2 separate regions of the Homo sapiens genome follow, and region 2 is linked to region 1. Evidence: promoter capture Hi-C in 16 types of primary human blood cells and fetal thymus (Javierre and others, 2016). All regions are on one chromosome and are shown on one strand. Each heading gives the region's core, a stretch centred on a gene start or on the middle of the fragment in contact. The rest is flanking DNA. Distances are from core to core; before and after follow the strand shown. Region 1 holds the start of KRTAP1-4 (keratin associated protein 1-4). Region 2 holds the start of KRTAP9-4 (keratin associated protein 9-4).

Evidence for each region. Contacts are between HindIII fragments. The CHiCAGO score rates a contact against its expected background, and 5 or more counts as called.
Region 2: a contact is called between a fragment that was not itself captured here and the fragment with the promoter of KRTAP1-4 in region 1, in 2 of 17 cell types (M2 macrophages and endothelial precursors). The highest score is 6.4, in M2 macrophages.

Annotation. Positions count from the first base shown.
Region 1 is chr17:41,027,828-41,034,230 of GRCh38, forward strand. It overlaps KRTAP1-4 (keratin associated protein 1-4), which reads right to left and starts at 2,368. Exons shown (of 1, transcript NM_001257305.2): 1 at 1,524-2,368. The coding sequence starts at 2,251. The coding sequence ends at 1,886. KRTAP1-3 (keratin associated protein 1-3) reads right to left here. Exons shown (of 1, transcript NM_030966.2): 1 at 6,057-6,403. RefSeq lists an enhancer at 1,458-2,007. The HindIII fragment of the contact is 2,506 bases long and covers 1,019-3,524 here.
Region 2 is chr17:41,246,245-41,253,530 of GRCh38, forward strand. It overlaps KRTAP9-4 (keratin associated protein 9-4), which reads left to right and starts at 3,443. Exons shown (of 1, transcript NM_033191.3): 1 at 3,443-4,409. The coding sequence starts at 3,477. The coding sequence ends at 3,941. RefSeq lists an enhancer at 3,170-3,724. The HindIII fragment of the contact is 1,395 bases long and covers 4,902-6,296 here.

The DNA of each region.
Region 1 (6,403 bases), core at 1,118-3,617:
GTCCTTAGTTTGTGGTAGAACCTTAATAAATGTTTACTGAATCTGATTCAATAAATGTTTATTGAATAGGTGGAGTAAAAGGCTTGATTCATGGATATCAATACCACTCAAACATGATTAAAGAGAACTTTCAAGCTGTAGTACTTCTCATGAAAGAGTCTTGTTATTTGCTGTAAAGAGACTAGGAAATGTGTTTTTTGGTTTATTTTATTTTATTTTTTGGATTTAGTAGTGGAACCGGGCTCGGGAAAAAATATCTAGGAGTTATGACACTTTGAAAAATGTACTGCCATCTACTTTATTCCTCTTGGAAATTGCATAATTTTGTGTGTAATCCATCATTGCTACCAATTAAATATAGAGGTAAGTTCTGGGAGCTTGTAAATAATGTGGAAAACGTGTTTCTTTCTATATTTGCATCCTATTGTATTTTGTGTATTACACTCTAATGCCTAATGAAGAATTTAAAAATTAAATGGTAAAATATGTTTTGTTTTGTTCTAGGTTGTGTTAATTTTTTTTTTTGAGACAGAGTCTTGCTTGTTGCCCAGGCTGGAGTGCAGTGGCGTGATCTTGGCTCACTGCAAGCTCTGCCTCCCAGGTTCACGCCATACTCCTGCCTCAGCCTCCCAAGTAGCTGGGACTGCAGGCACCCACGACCACACCTGACTAATTTTTTTTTTGTATTTTTAGTAAAGACTGGGTTTCACCATATTAGTCAGGATGGTCTCAATCTCCTGACCTCGTGATCCACCCATCTCAGCCTCCCAAAGTGCTGGGATTACAGGCGTAAGCCACCGTGTCCAGCGTGTTAACTTCTTAAGAGAATATCTTTTAAGTTGGGTTGCAAAGTGCAAAATATAATCGAGCTGTTTCAGATTTCTAACACTTCTGTCTGACAAATGGCAATGGTAGAACTCAGCGGGTGCTCTCTATAGCTGTTTCTTCTACTATCATTTAGACCAAAGATACACCTTATGCATACGTACATCAAATGAAGGTGAATAGTGGGAGTTGAAGCTTAGAGAGCAATTCAAGGATCAGTGGGAAGAATGTGAAAGGCTAAGGTGTAGAAATTAAACCTAAATTCTCTTGGAAAATAGGTAGTATCTAGTAGCTATTTTTAAATCTATTTAGAAGGTAATGCAATTTCTTTAGATTTTGGGGCATAAATGAAGGAGAACATTTAGTATATTAAATGGAAGGAGACAAAAGATGGTAGAATTACATTTAGATAGAAATCAATAGCTTTGATCAACCTTAACATTTTAGCTAAAGGTCAACCTTTATTGGTCTAGACCTAATCATAATAGATTAGAGCATGTAAATATTTGAACTATAAAAATTCTTTAATTCATGGAGCATTTTTAAGCTGATGGATTCAAGCATAATTTACTTTGTATTTAATCTTTCTGGTTTAGACTTTATGGTTATGCCTTGGTATTATTATCAAATTGCAAATCCACTCTTGAATACCAGCTACAAGAAGACATGTTTAAAGGTAGAAGGAGGACATAACTCAGTTTGCTTTGCACATTAAAACATTTTATTTGGATTAATCAGAGATATTCAAGGAAAAACCAGGTCTGAAGATGCATGAGCATCAAGAGAGAGTTGGGGGAGCAGAGATGTCACTGAAATGATGAACTATTCCATCCTGGTCCTCTGCTCAAGCAACGCAAGCTATCCAGAACACTGATTGATACATCTTTCAGTAAGTGAATTCGGCACATCCACAGTGTCCTAACTAGGAGTTTCATTATCTCTGAGCAGCTTAACAACATCATGGTACTTAGCATCCAAGTAAAATCGAACAGTTCTTCAGAAATCAGCACAATTTTGCTGTGCTTCCCCTTTCATTCTTAAGCGATCAGCAACCTGGCTTTTAGCAGGTGGGCTCACAGCAGTGGCAGCAGCAGGCTGGGCGGCAGCAGGACTGTCCACAGTAGGACGGGCGGCAGCAGGAGGCCTCGGCGTGGTGCAGCTGGCAGCAGGATGGGGGTGTGCAGCTTACCAGGTAGCAGGGGGGCAGGCAGGTGCCCTCCACGTGGCAATCTGGGTGGCACCACCTGATACGGGTGCTCACAGATCCACCGCTGCCCTCCTGGCCATAGCCAATGCCACCACCAATGCCACAGCCGGTTCCGCAGGAGCTGGTCTGGCAGCAGCTTGGCTGGCAGCAGCTAGTTTCACAGCAGCTTGGCTGGCAGCAGCTGGAGCCACAGGTCCCACTGGTGGAACAGCTGGCCATGGTGTCAGGAGTTGGGTTGAGAGCTGTGTTAAGAGAGGTTTCTGAGTTTGGGCTGTACCTTCTATATCTGTCCTTTGATATGTTCCCTAGAGCTGCATATTTACCCAACACCTTTTCTTGATGTCAATTTCAGTGTGAGTCTCTGGCTAATACCTGAGGTGTTTATAAAGTTATAAATAGCATTTCAATAGCCTTTTTCCATTGTACAATTAAGTCTCATTATGTTTCTTCTTTGCCCTCTGGGCGAAGTGAAGGCTCATCATGGAAGCCAAGCACCGAAGTGCCTCTTTATGCAAGTCACATGACAGACTAGCCTTGAGCCAAGTGTCGCCCTGGCACGTTTTGTCATAGTTGTCCTTTGATAACCTTTAGGCAGAATTTATCTTAACTGATCATTTTTCCTTAAATGGTCACTTAACTATGATCATGATTTTATAAACAATTTGTCCAGACTTGGAAAGACTAACATTAGTGTCATCAAAACATGAACTACAACCTGATGTATCAACTTTCAAACCAAGTATGCCTTTCTATGATCAATTTGTGCAAGTTATAGGATCCTCAGAGCTCTATCTAATATTCTTGCCTTCAGTAATAGTGAATGTACAAATTGCTAACTAAAATCTTTAATGACTTTTGCTTGTAGATTGTTTTCTGACTCTATTAAATTAAACATATGTGCTAGTAATGAGTACACATTGTAACAAGTCAAAGAGTACAGAGGTATATAAAGAAAAATTAGTGTCTTTTCCCTTCCTGGAAGATGCACACATCTCTTCCAAAACTAATGCTCTAGAGGTAATCAATATTAAGAATTTGGTGCACATTCTTTGACACCTTTATCCTTGCTTCTGCAAATATAAACCAGCATATATACATATATATCTTCTATTTCAGAAAAGTTTGGGTCTCCTACACATGTTTATAGTTACAAATTTTTAATTGTGGTAAAATATACATACCATAAAATTTATGAACCATTTACATTAACCATCTTAACCATTTGTAAATAGTCTTGTCACCCTTGTTGAAAATCATTTGACCACATTCACATTCAGAAGAAATGAAATTAGACCATTGTCTCACATTATATACAAAAACCAACTTAGAATGGATTAAAAGACTGAAATGTAAGAAAGACTCAAAATGATAAAACTATAAGAAGAAAACAGAGGAAACTCCATGACTTTTGCCTGGCCAATATTGTGATATTGTGAACATGAATCCAAAAGCATCAGCAAAAATAGACAAGTGGGATTACATCAAACTAAAAAGCTTCTGCACAGCCAATAAAACACTAAACTGAGTGAAGACGCAAACCGCTGAATGGGAGAAAATATTTATAAACCACATATCTGATAAAGGGTTAATATCCAAAGTATAGAGGAAACTCAAACAACTCAATACCTGTAGTAAGAAAACAAATAACGTAATTGAAAAATGGGCAAAAAATCTAAATAGACATTTCTCAAAAAAAATCTACAAATTGCCAACAGGTATATGAAAAATTTTCAAAATCACCAATCATCGGATAATGCAAATTGAAACCACAATGAGATATCGTCTCACACATATTAGATAGTTATTATCAAAAAGACAAAAGATAGCAAGTGTTGGAGAGGAAGTGGAGAAAAGAGAACTCTGGCACACTGTTGGTGGAAATGTAAATTAGTACAGCCATTATGGAAAACAATATGAAGGTTCATCAGAAAATTAAAAATAGAACTGTCATATAATCAAGCAATCCCACTTCTGTGTATATACCCGAAGGAAAGTAAATCAGTATTTTGAAGAGACATCTGCATTCCCATGTTCATTGCAGCATTACTCACAATAGCCAAGATATGGAAGCAACCTAAGTGTCCATGTCCATCATTAAATGAGTGGATAAAGAAAATGTGATACACACACACATACACACACACACACTCACACACTGGAATATTATTGGTCATAAAAGAAGGAAATCCTGCTATTTGGGGCAACAGATTAAACTTGAGAACATTATACTAAGTGAAATAAGTCAGACAAAGAAAAAGACTAATATTGCACTTTCTCACTTACAAGTGGAACTTAATGTAAATGACAAGTTATTGGGTGCAGCACACCAACATGGCACATGTATACATATGCAACAAACCTGCAAGTTGTGCACATGTACCCTAGAACTTAAAGTATAATAAAAACAAAAAAACCTCAAAAAAAAGAAAAAGTTGAATTCATGGAAGTAGAAAGTAGAATGGTGGTTACCGGGGGTAGGGTGGTGGTGGAGTGTGTTGGGAAGATGTTGGTCAAAGGATTACAAAATTTCAGTTAGATAAGAGGAATAAATTCAAGAGATCTATTGTACAACATAGAGACTATAGTTCATAACAATATGTTACAGTCCTGAAAATTGCTAAGAGAGTAGATTTTGTGTTTTCACTACAAAAAAACTTATGTGAGGTAATGCATATGTTAATTAGTTTGATTTAGCCATTGTACGAAGTATACATATTCCAAAAAAATGTGTTGTACACAATAAATACATATAATTTTTGTCAATTCAAATAAATAAATAAATGAACTCATTTAACCATATGTGTATTTGAGGGTTTATTTCTAGGCTCTCTGTTCTTTTCCATTGCTTTATATATCTGTCTTTATATCAGTATCACACTGTTATGATTACTGTAGCTTTACAGTAAATTTTGAAACAGGAAAATGTGAGACCAACTTTGTTCTTTTTTAAGATTGTTTTGGCTATATAGGACCCCTTCTAATTTCATATGTATTTTAGGATGGATTTTTTTAAAATTTCTGCAAAAACATCATTGGGATTTTTATAGGGATTGCGTTAAATCTGTAGATTCTCTGGGTAGTATTGACATCTTAACAATATTAAATCCTATAATCCATGATCTCAGGATGTCTTTTCATTTATTTGTGTCTTCTTTAATTTCTTTCAGTAACATTTTGTAGTTTCTGGTGTACGAGTCTTTCCCCTCCAAGGCTAAGTTTGTTCCTAAGTATTTTATTCTTTATTTTATTATTATTATTATTATTTGAAATGGAGTCTCACTCTGTCACCCAGGCTGGAGTGAAGTGGCACAATCTTGGCTCACTGTAACCTCCACCTCCTGGGTTCAAGCAATTCTCATGCCTCAGCCTCCCCAGTAGCTGGGACCACAGGCATCCACGAACATGCCTGGCTAATTTTTGTATTTTTAGTAGAGACAGGGTTTCACTATATTGGCCAGGCTGGACTTGAGCTCCTAACCTCAGGTGATCTGCCCACCTCAGCTTACCAAAGTGCTGGGATTACAGGCATGAGCCACCATGCCCGGCCATAAGTATTTTATTCTTTTGATGGAATTGTTTTTAAAATTTTCCTTACAGATTTTTCATGGTTAGTATATAGAAATGCAATTTATTTTTTTTAGTAGAGATGGGGTTTCACCATGTTGGCCAAGCTGATCTCAAACTCCCGACCTCGTGATCTGTCTACCTTGGCCTCCCAAAATGCTGGGATTACAGGTGTGAGCCACCGTACCCAGCCAGAGATTTTGATTTCTGTAACTTCCTGGTTGTGAAAGCACTGTGTAAGGTTAAGTTATGGTAACAGAGCCTTTGCCATTTCTGAGGCCCTAAATAACTACACTTACTCTATGTTTTTATGGTCATTAACCTCCACTGGACCTCTGGATAACAAATTTCCTAATGTGGTATTAGAAGAGAAGGGATATCAAAAGCAGATTAAAGTTTTTCATATGACATTCTATGAAATATACATCCTGAGTACACTCAATGAAAAAAAAAAGATATGTTTGTTGCACCAATAGTTAAAATTTATTAGACCTTGGTATATTATTCCTCTTTCATAGGGGGTGCAATTTGCAGGACGGTGGGATACAGGAAGTGAGTGTCCTGAGAAGGACAGATGGCTCTTCCATGGTCTCGTCGGCGCTGAGACTCAGAGCGTGGGCTTCAATGCTTGCAAAGGCTCAGTTTCAAGGTAAATCGGCTTTTTCATTTCTTGGGTCAAATTTGTATTTTGGCGTCCTCAGAGAGAAGAGTAAGGTCTTTCTGGAATTGAAAGGAATCAGATAATTCTGAGGCCAAAATATTTGGTAACCCCCATAAGAAAGACAAAGAAAGGTTGAAGAATTTGTT
Region 2 (7,286 bases), core at 4,349-6,848, 220 kb after region 1:
CTTCTGAGACTGTGAATCTAGAATGCTCTGAAGACTTGGCTAAGAGACAACAGCCACTTACTGTCATCATCGTTCAGGGATGAAGTAAAGGAGATGAAAACTAGGACATTCTCTTTGACTAGCATCAGTTATGAAAGATGAATAAGTTCAGTAGGTCTAATGTACAGTAATATGACTATAGTTAAAAACACTTTATCATATACCTGAAATTTACTGAGAAGGTAGATCTTAAATGTTCACACCAGAAAAATAAAAAGGAAATGGTAACTAAGTGACCTAATAAATATGTTATTCACAATCAATATATATATCAGAGCATCACCTTCTATACCTGAAATGTACACAATTTTTGTTTGTCAATTATACCTCAATACAGCTAGAAAAAAACGTATTTAGTTGATCTATTTAATTATTACAAAAATATTCTTATCTTCAACATAAAACTTGGGAATTTTCTGAACAAAAAACACTAATTCTGTGTTGCCTGCTCTATGATGGGTACTGGATAAATGCTTTGTGTACATTATTATTAACTATTTAACAAACTTTCAAAATAGGTATTAATGTTCCCCTTGTAGAGATGAGAAATTTGAGGCTGAGAGAGTTAACGTATTGTCATAGATTAGTTTCTCCCAGAAGAGACTTTGAAGAAAATATTCCAGGGAAACTAGTTTACTGAGAAGTGCAGATCACACCGGTAGGGACTGGGGAAGTGATACAGAAGAAGGCACACTATTAAGTCAGTATCACAGTCACCAACTAAAGCTTAAACTAAAGGGAAAACTATCAGAAATGATGAAAAACACACAGCTAGAATTACCCTACTTCAGGAATGAGGAAGCTAAAGTCTTTATAAATCAGCTCTCCAGAATCATTGGTTGAGTGTTTTTCTCTGTGTTGCATTCACAGGTGGCATGACTTTCTACAGCTGCAATACAAGAGCCCTTAGGCACAGAGATGCAGATTTTGACAGATGGAAATTGATCCAAGCACAGTAACATCCAAGATATATGGGTGCAGTCATGAAAACTTGTCTACAATCTACAATTAGCTCCACTCAAGTCAAATATTTGCTACTTAAATAGGATGGGCAGCCACAACCTCTAGGAGAAGGAAGAAGAGGAAGAGAGGAAGCAGAGGAAGAGAAGGGACAGAAGATGAGAGGAGAAGGAAAGAGAAAAGAAGGAAAGAAAAACAGAAAGACAGAGAGAAGGAAGGAAGGAAAGAAGGAAGGAAGGAAGGACAGGAAGGAGGGAGGGAGGGAAAGGAGGGAGCGGGGAGGAACTGAGGGAGGGGAAGGAAGGAAGGAAGGAAAAAAGAAAGAAAGAAAGATAAAAAGAAAGAAAGAAAGAGAAAGAAAGAAAGAGAGAGAAAGGGAGAGAGAAGGGAAGGGAAGGGAGGGAGGAAGGGAGGAAAAAAGGAAGGAAGGAAGGAAAAGAAAGAAAGAAAAGAAAGAAAGAAAGAAAGAAGAAAGAGGAAGGAAAGGAAAAGAAAGGAGAGGAAGTGAGATATAAAACGAAGGCCAATTAAATAATCTACACTTACTTCTGCTATAATACAGTGCACCTAAGTTTCATAAACTCCGTTAATTACCAAGAGTTCTATTCTCCCTTCACCCCTGGCCAGCACTCTTGTTGGTCTAGATAACTGCTGATAGAGTAGCTCAGAGCATCCTTCCTGAAGGGTCTGAGCCCCTGGTTACTATACCATTGTCCACCGTGATTGTTGTTTTTACTCATTTGTGGTTATCACTAGGCATGGACACACTGTGAGATTCTGCAGTGTTATGGGTTCATTTGCGTCCCTCAAAATTCATATTCAAATAGAATCATCTAAAGTGTTATCTGATAAGACAAGGTCATATTGGAAACAATTAGGCCTCTGATTAAATATGACTGTGTCTATTCACAAGGGAGAAATTCAGAGACAGTATGGATATAATAGAAAAATTATGTCAAACACACTTGGAGATGATAGACTTTGACACGTCAGGGAGAGAGACGTGGAACAGATACTTCCCTCGCAGTCTTCAGATGAAAACAACATTGCCAACACCTTAATTTCAGAAAAGAGGCCTTCAGAACTTTGATAAATAAATTTAAGCCACTTTTTTTCAGTAATTCATCAGGGCAGTGCTAGTAAATTAATATACTCAGTAAATCTCCTGAGCTATAGATATATTCTGCTACACTATATGGCTTGAGGGTAATTATCCCTCACCAAATAGTAACTACTTTCTCTGTCTGCTGCTTTGCTTATATGAAGAGTCCAAAATGACTAGGCGATAAAGATTACTTTTGTTTATGCCAAAGAAATAGAGAAGCAAATACTATACTTTTTATTCACATGAAAACTTTAAAAAACCAAAAATTACCTACAGGATTACAACTGATAGAGTGATTAGCTGTCTTTGGGAATGAGTAAGAGCATATAATTGGGAGAGAATGGAATTAATTTCTATTTCCTAACATAGATGTAATGGGGACACAGATGTATTTACAATATAATACTATATCAAGTTGAAAATTAATAATTTGCATTCTTCTCAAATGAATGGTATACCTAGAAAATGTTTTAAACATGTTAGAACTCCATGATGAATCAGGCATCATCTCAACTCATCTAATTCCTTCATTAAAAAGAAATAGAGAGAGAGAGAGAAGACATGCTGCTTACTGTGCTAGTAACCGGGTTGCGACTAGAGCCACAGCACATGCTGGTTGGCCTGAATCTCAAGCATTTATGCCATAGAGAGTCCTACATTCTCATTCTGGAATCGCCACGCTCACAGACAAGTCAGAATGAATGGTCACTCAGGGCATAGATTACTTGATGCTGTCTAAATCCCAGTGGATTTATCTGCATCCACCTGCTCTCGATCTGCTCTGCCACATGGAACACACTGTGACAAACACCCTCTTCCCAAGTGATGTTCAAAGAACTGAAAGACAGGTGGTGTGGGTTGCACAGAGAGATGCCTGCTAGTCTTGAGTCAGAATTTGGTGGGTGACTAGTCTTGGGCCCAGGCATGGATTCATTTTGTCACTGTAAATATATCAGCATCATGCTTCTCCCCACAGACACTTCCCAGTCTACATACAGCCAAACATGAGGCTGGCCAGAGAGAACTTCCTGAGCCTCCCAGATCAACAGGAACTATCACATGACCAGATGATGGTCAGAACAGGAATGATGCTGATGATGAGATTGCCTTCCTTTTATCTGAAACAAAGTGTCTATGAGTAATTCACAATTAAGAAACAGATTAAACCTTAATCTGTTTAACCTTAAGGAAACAACTACCCTTTGAGAATCACAAACGGACTGGGAAAACAATGTAAACGGAAACAAGGAAAAGTCCTGCTGATTGGTGGAAACTTTGGAGGCCAGGTGTATAAAAGGTCCAGATTGCAAGGGGTCATCAGATTCTGGGAAACTCACCTCTGAACAGAAGCCCACCCTCTACCCCTGACACCATGACCCACTGTTGCTCCCCTTGCTGTCAGCCTACATGCTGCAGGACCACCTGCTGCAGGACCACCTGCTGGAAGCCCACCACTGTGACCACCTGCAGCAGCACACCCTGCTGCCAGCCCTCCTGCTGTGTTTCCAGCTGCTGCCAGCCTTGCTGCCGCCCAACTTGCTGTCAAAACACCTGCTGCCAGCCCACCTGTGTGACCAGCTGCTGCCAGCCTTCCTGCTGCAGCACACCCTGCTGCCAGCCCACCTGCTGTGGGTCCAGCTGTGACCAGAGCAGCTCCTGTGCACCTGTGTACTGCAGAAGAACCTGCTACTACCCCACAACTGTCTGCCTGCCTGGTTGCCTAAACCAGAGCTGTGGCTCCAACTGCTGCCAGCCCTGCTGCCGCCCAGCCTGCTGTGAGACCACTTGCTTCCAGCCCACCTGTGTGTCCAGCTGCTGTCAGCCTTTTTGCTGCTGATCAAGTCCCAAGAGAACCACCATCCTCACACAACAACTTTCTGCTCAACTGACTTATCTTTTGGGGGACTAATTTAATTTGCTGCTGACAGCCACCATGCTCTCACCCAAATTTTTATGAATTCTCTACCTGTTTAAAATCTTGGGAATCTACTTGAGGGAGGGCAGAATACTTCATCCTGATTCTCTTTTTCCTTACACTTTGTGGATCATGTGCCAGCTTCGTGTGTTCTCAATTTTGAGTCATGGTCTCAGCTTTGACTCAAAAGTCAAGAGCTTCATTCTCTGCTTCTAAGGAATTTAGGTTTCTGCAACTGATCAATAATCTTTGCAATCATATTTTTGTTTTCAATATCCTCCTCATGGTTCTTGTATCCTTCTTTCTTCTTTTCATAACTTTGGGTTATGTTTCTGCTACCAGCAGAGATTCTTAGCTATATGTTTCTGAATAAACTCTGAACCATCCTCATCTCATATGGTGTTTTGTTTTATATGAAAGCATTCCTGATATGAGATTTACACACATATCACATACCATAGGTATTATCCAATTTGATTCTCAAAACAGATGGTCGTGTGTTATTACCTCCATTTTTTCAGCTGAGAACAATTTAATGTGTGATGTTATGTAGCTAGTAAAGGGCAGACTCTTGTCCAAGCTGAGGTCCTCTCTTTCTGCCCAAGGACACTTACATTTAACTCTCAATATAGTAGAAATGACATTGGAAGTAAGTATTAGCAAGTCATATACTTGAGTTTTTTTAACAATAGGACAAATAATCTCTTATATTTGCAGATAACGTTTTTGTTTACAAAAAATTCCCAATTTCCCACACCTCAGTGAGAAACAGCTGCGTGATATGGCAGCAGGGACTGCATTTAATGGCTGCCCTGAATGCAGGGAGCTCTTTTTGTCTCAGCCTCTGACCAGCCACTCATTCAATTCATCTACATCAAAAAAAGCTTGGGAATTTATTGTGGACTCATGAGAGAGAGTCTCATCTGAAGAAACTTGTTGTCAATATCATGTAAATAAAATACTTATACAGCCTTCATCTCCTGAATACCTATTGATGAAGTAAATGAAACTAAGTTATTTCTTGTAAAATGCAGACCATACATTTTGCCACATTAAGACAATTTGTCCCCTAATTGTAATGTTATGAGGGAAATTATGTAAGAACAAAGCTGAGAATTGAGAAACTACACAATGGGCATGTAAGACTTGGCACAATCCATAATCTCTGAGCCAAGTAAGGGAATGAAACAGCCTTCTGCATTTTGTGAGGCCAATAGGAAGCATTCAAAGAAATGAAAAACTTGTGTTTCCAGGGAAATCAGAAGAATGTAAGAAAGGAGCAAAGTAGAACTTGTGCATTCATAGAAGTCATAATAGACAGAGGTTAGTGCTTTGGGTCCTGAACCGATGTAAGCTAAGCATTCACCCATGGAAAGATTGATTGATACAGGCTCTGAGAGAAATATAAAAGTTGGGGACCTGGGTCACCTTCTTCGGACCTCCTACCAGCACTGGAGTGCTAGAATTACCTCTGATCAGCTAAAAATGTAGATTTCCATGACAGATGCCAACTTCTGAGACTGTGAATCTAGAATGCTCTGAAGACTTGGCTAAGAGACAACGGCCACTTACTGTGATCATCGTTCAGGGTTGAAGTAAAGGAGATGAAAACTAGGACATTCTCTTTGACTAGCATCATTTATGAAAGATGAATAAGTTCAGCATGTCTACTGTACAGTAATGTGACTATAGTTAATAACACTTTATCATATACCTGAAATTTACCAAGAAGGTAGATCTTAAATGTTCACACCACAAAAATTAAAAGGAAATGGTAGCTTCGTGACCTAATAAACATATTATTCACAAGGAATATATATATCAGAACATCACCTTGTATACCTGAAATAGATACAACTTTTATTTGTCAATTATACCTCAATACAGCTAGGAAAAAAAGTATTTAGTTGATCTAGTTAATTATTACAAAAATATTCCTATCTTCAACATTAAAATTGGTAATTTTCTGAACAAGAAACACTAATATGTTCTGGATTGCCTGCTATAGGATGGGTATTTGCTAAACACTTTGTGTACATTATTATTAACTCTTTAACAAACTTTCAGAATAGGTATTAATATTCCCAGCGTAGAGATAAGAAAATTGAGGCTGAGGGAGTTAACATAATGTCATAGATTAGTTTCTCCCGAAAAGACTTTGAAGAAAAGATTCCAGTGAAACTAGTTTACTGGGAAGTGCAGATCACACCGGTAGGAATTGGGGAAGTGATACAGAAAAGGGTACACTATAAAGTCAGTATCACAGTCACCAACTAAAGCTTAAACTAAAGGGAAAACTATCAGAAATGATGAAAAACACACAGCTAGAATTATCCTACTTCAGGAATGAGGAAGCTAGAGTCTTTATAAATCAGCTCTCCAGAATCATTGGTTGAGTGTTTTTCTCTGTGTTGCATTCACAGGTGGCATGACTTTCTACAGCTGCAATACAAGAGCCCTTGGCCACAGAGATGCGGACTCTGACAGATGGAAATTAATCCAAGCACACTAACATGCAAGATATATGGGCGCACTTACGAAAACTTGTCTGAGATCTACAATTAGCTCCACTCAAGTCAAATCTTTGCTGTTTAAATGTGATGGAGAGCCACAAGCTCTAAAAGAAGGAAGAAGCAGAGGAGAGGAAGAGAAGGAACAGAAGATGAGAGGAGGAAAGAGAAAAGAAACAAAAAAGAAAAAGAGAAGGGAGGAAGAAAGGAAGGAAAAGGAAAGGGAAGGGAAGGGATAAAGGAACCAAAAAAAAACATGAAGGAAGGAAGGAGAAGGGGTGATTGAAGAAAAAGAAAGAAAGAAAAATGAAGAAGGAAACGAAAAGCTGGGGGAGGAAGTGAGATATAAAATGAAGGCCAATGAAATAAGCTACACTTACTGCTGCTATAATACAGTGCACCTGAGATTCATAAGCTCCATTAATTACCACCAGTCCTATTCTCCCTTCACCCCTGGCCAGCACTCTTGTTTGTCTAGATAACTGCCTGAGGGAGTAGCTCAGAGCATCCTTCCTGAAGGGTCTGAGCCCCTGGTTACTATACCACTGTCCGCTGTGATTACTGTTTTTACTGTTTTGTGGTTATCACTGGGCATGGACACACTATGAGATTCTGCAGTGTTATGGGTTAATTTGTGTCCTCCAAAATTCATGTTCAAATAGAATCATTTAAAATGTTATGTGATAAGAAAAGGTCATATTGGAAACAATTAGGCTTCTGATTAAATATGACTGATATCTATACACAAGGGGGAAAT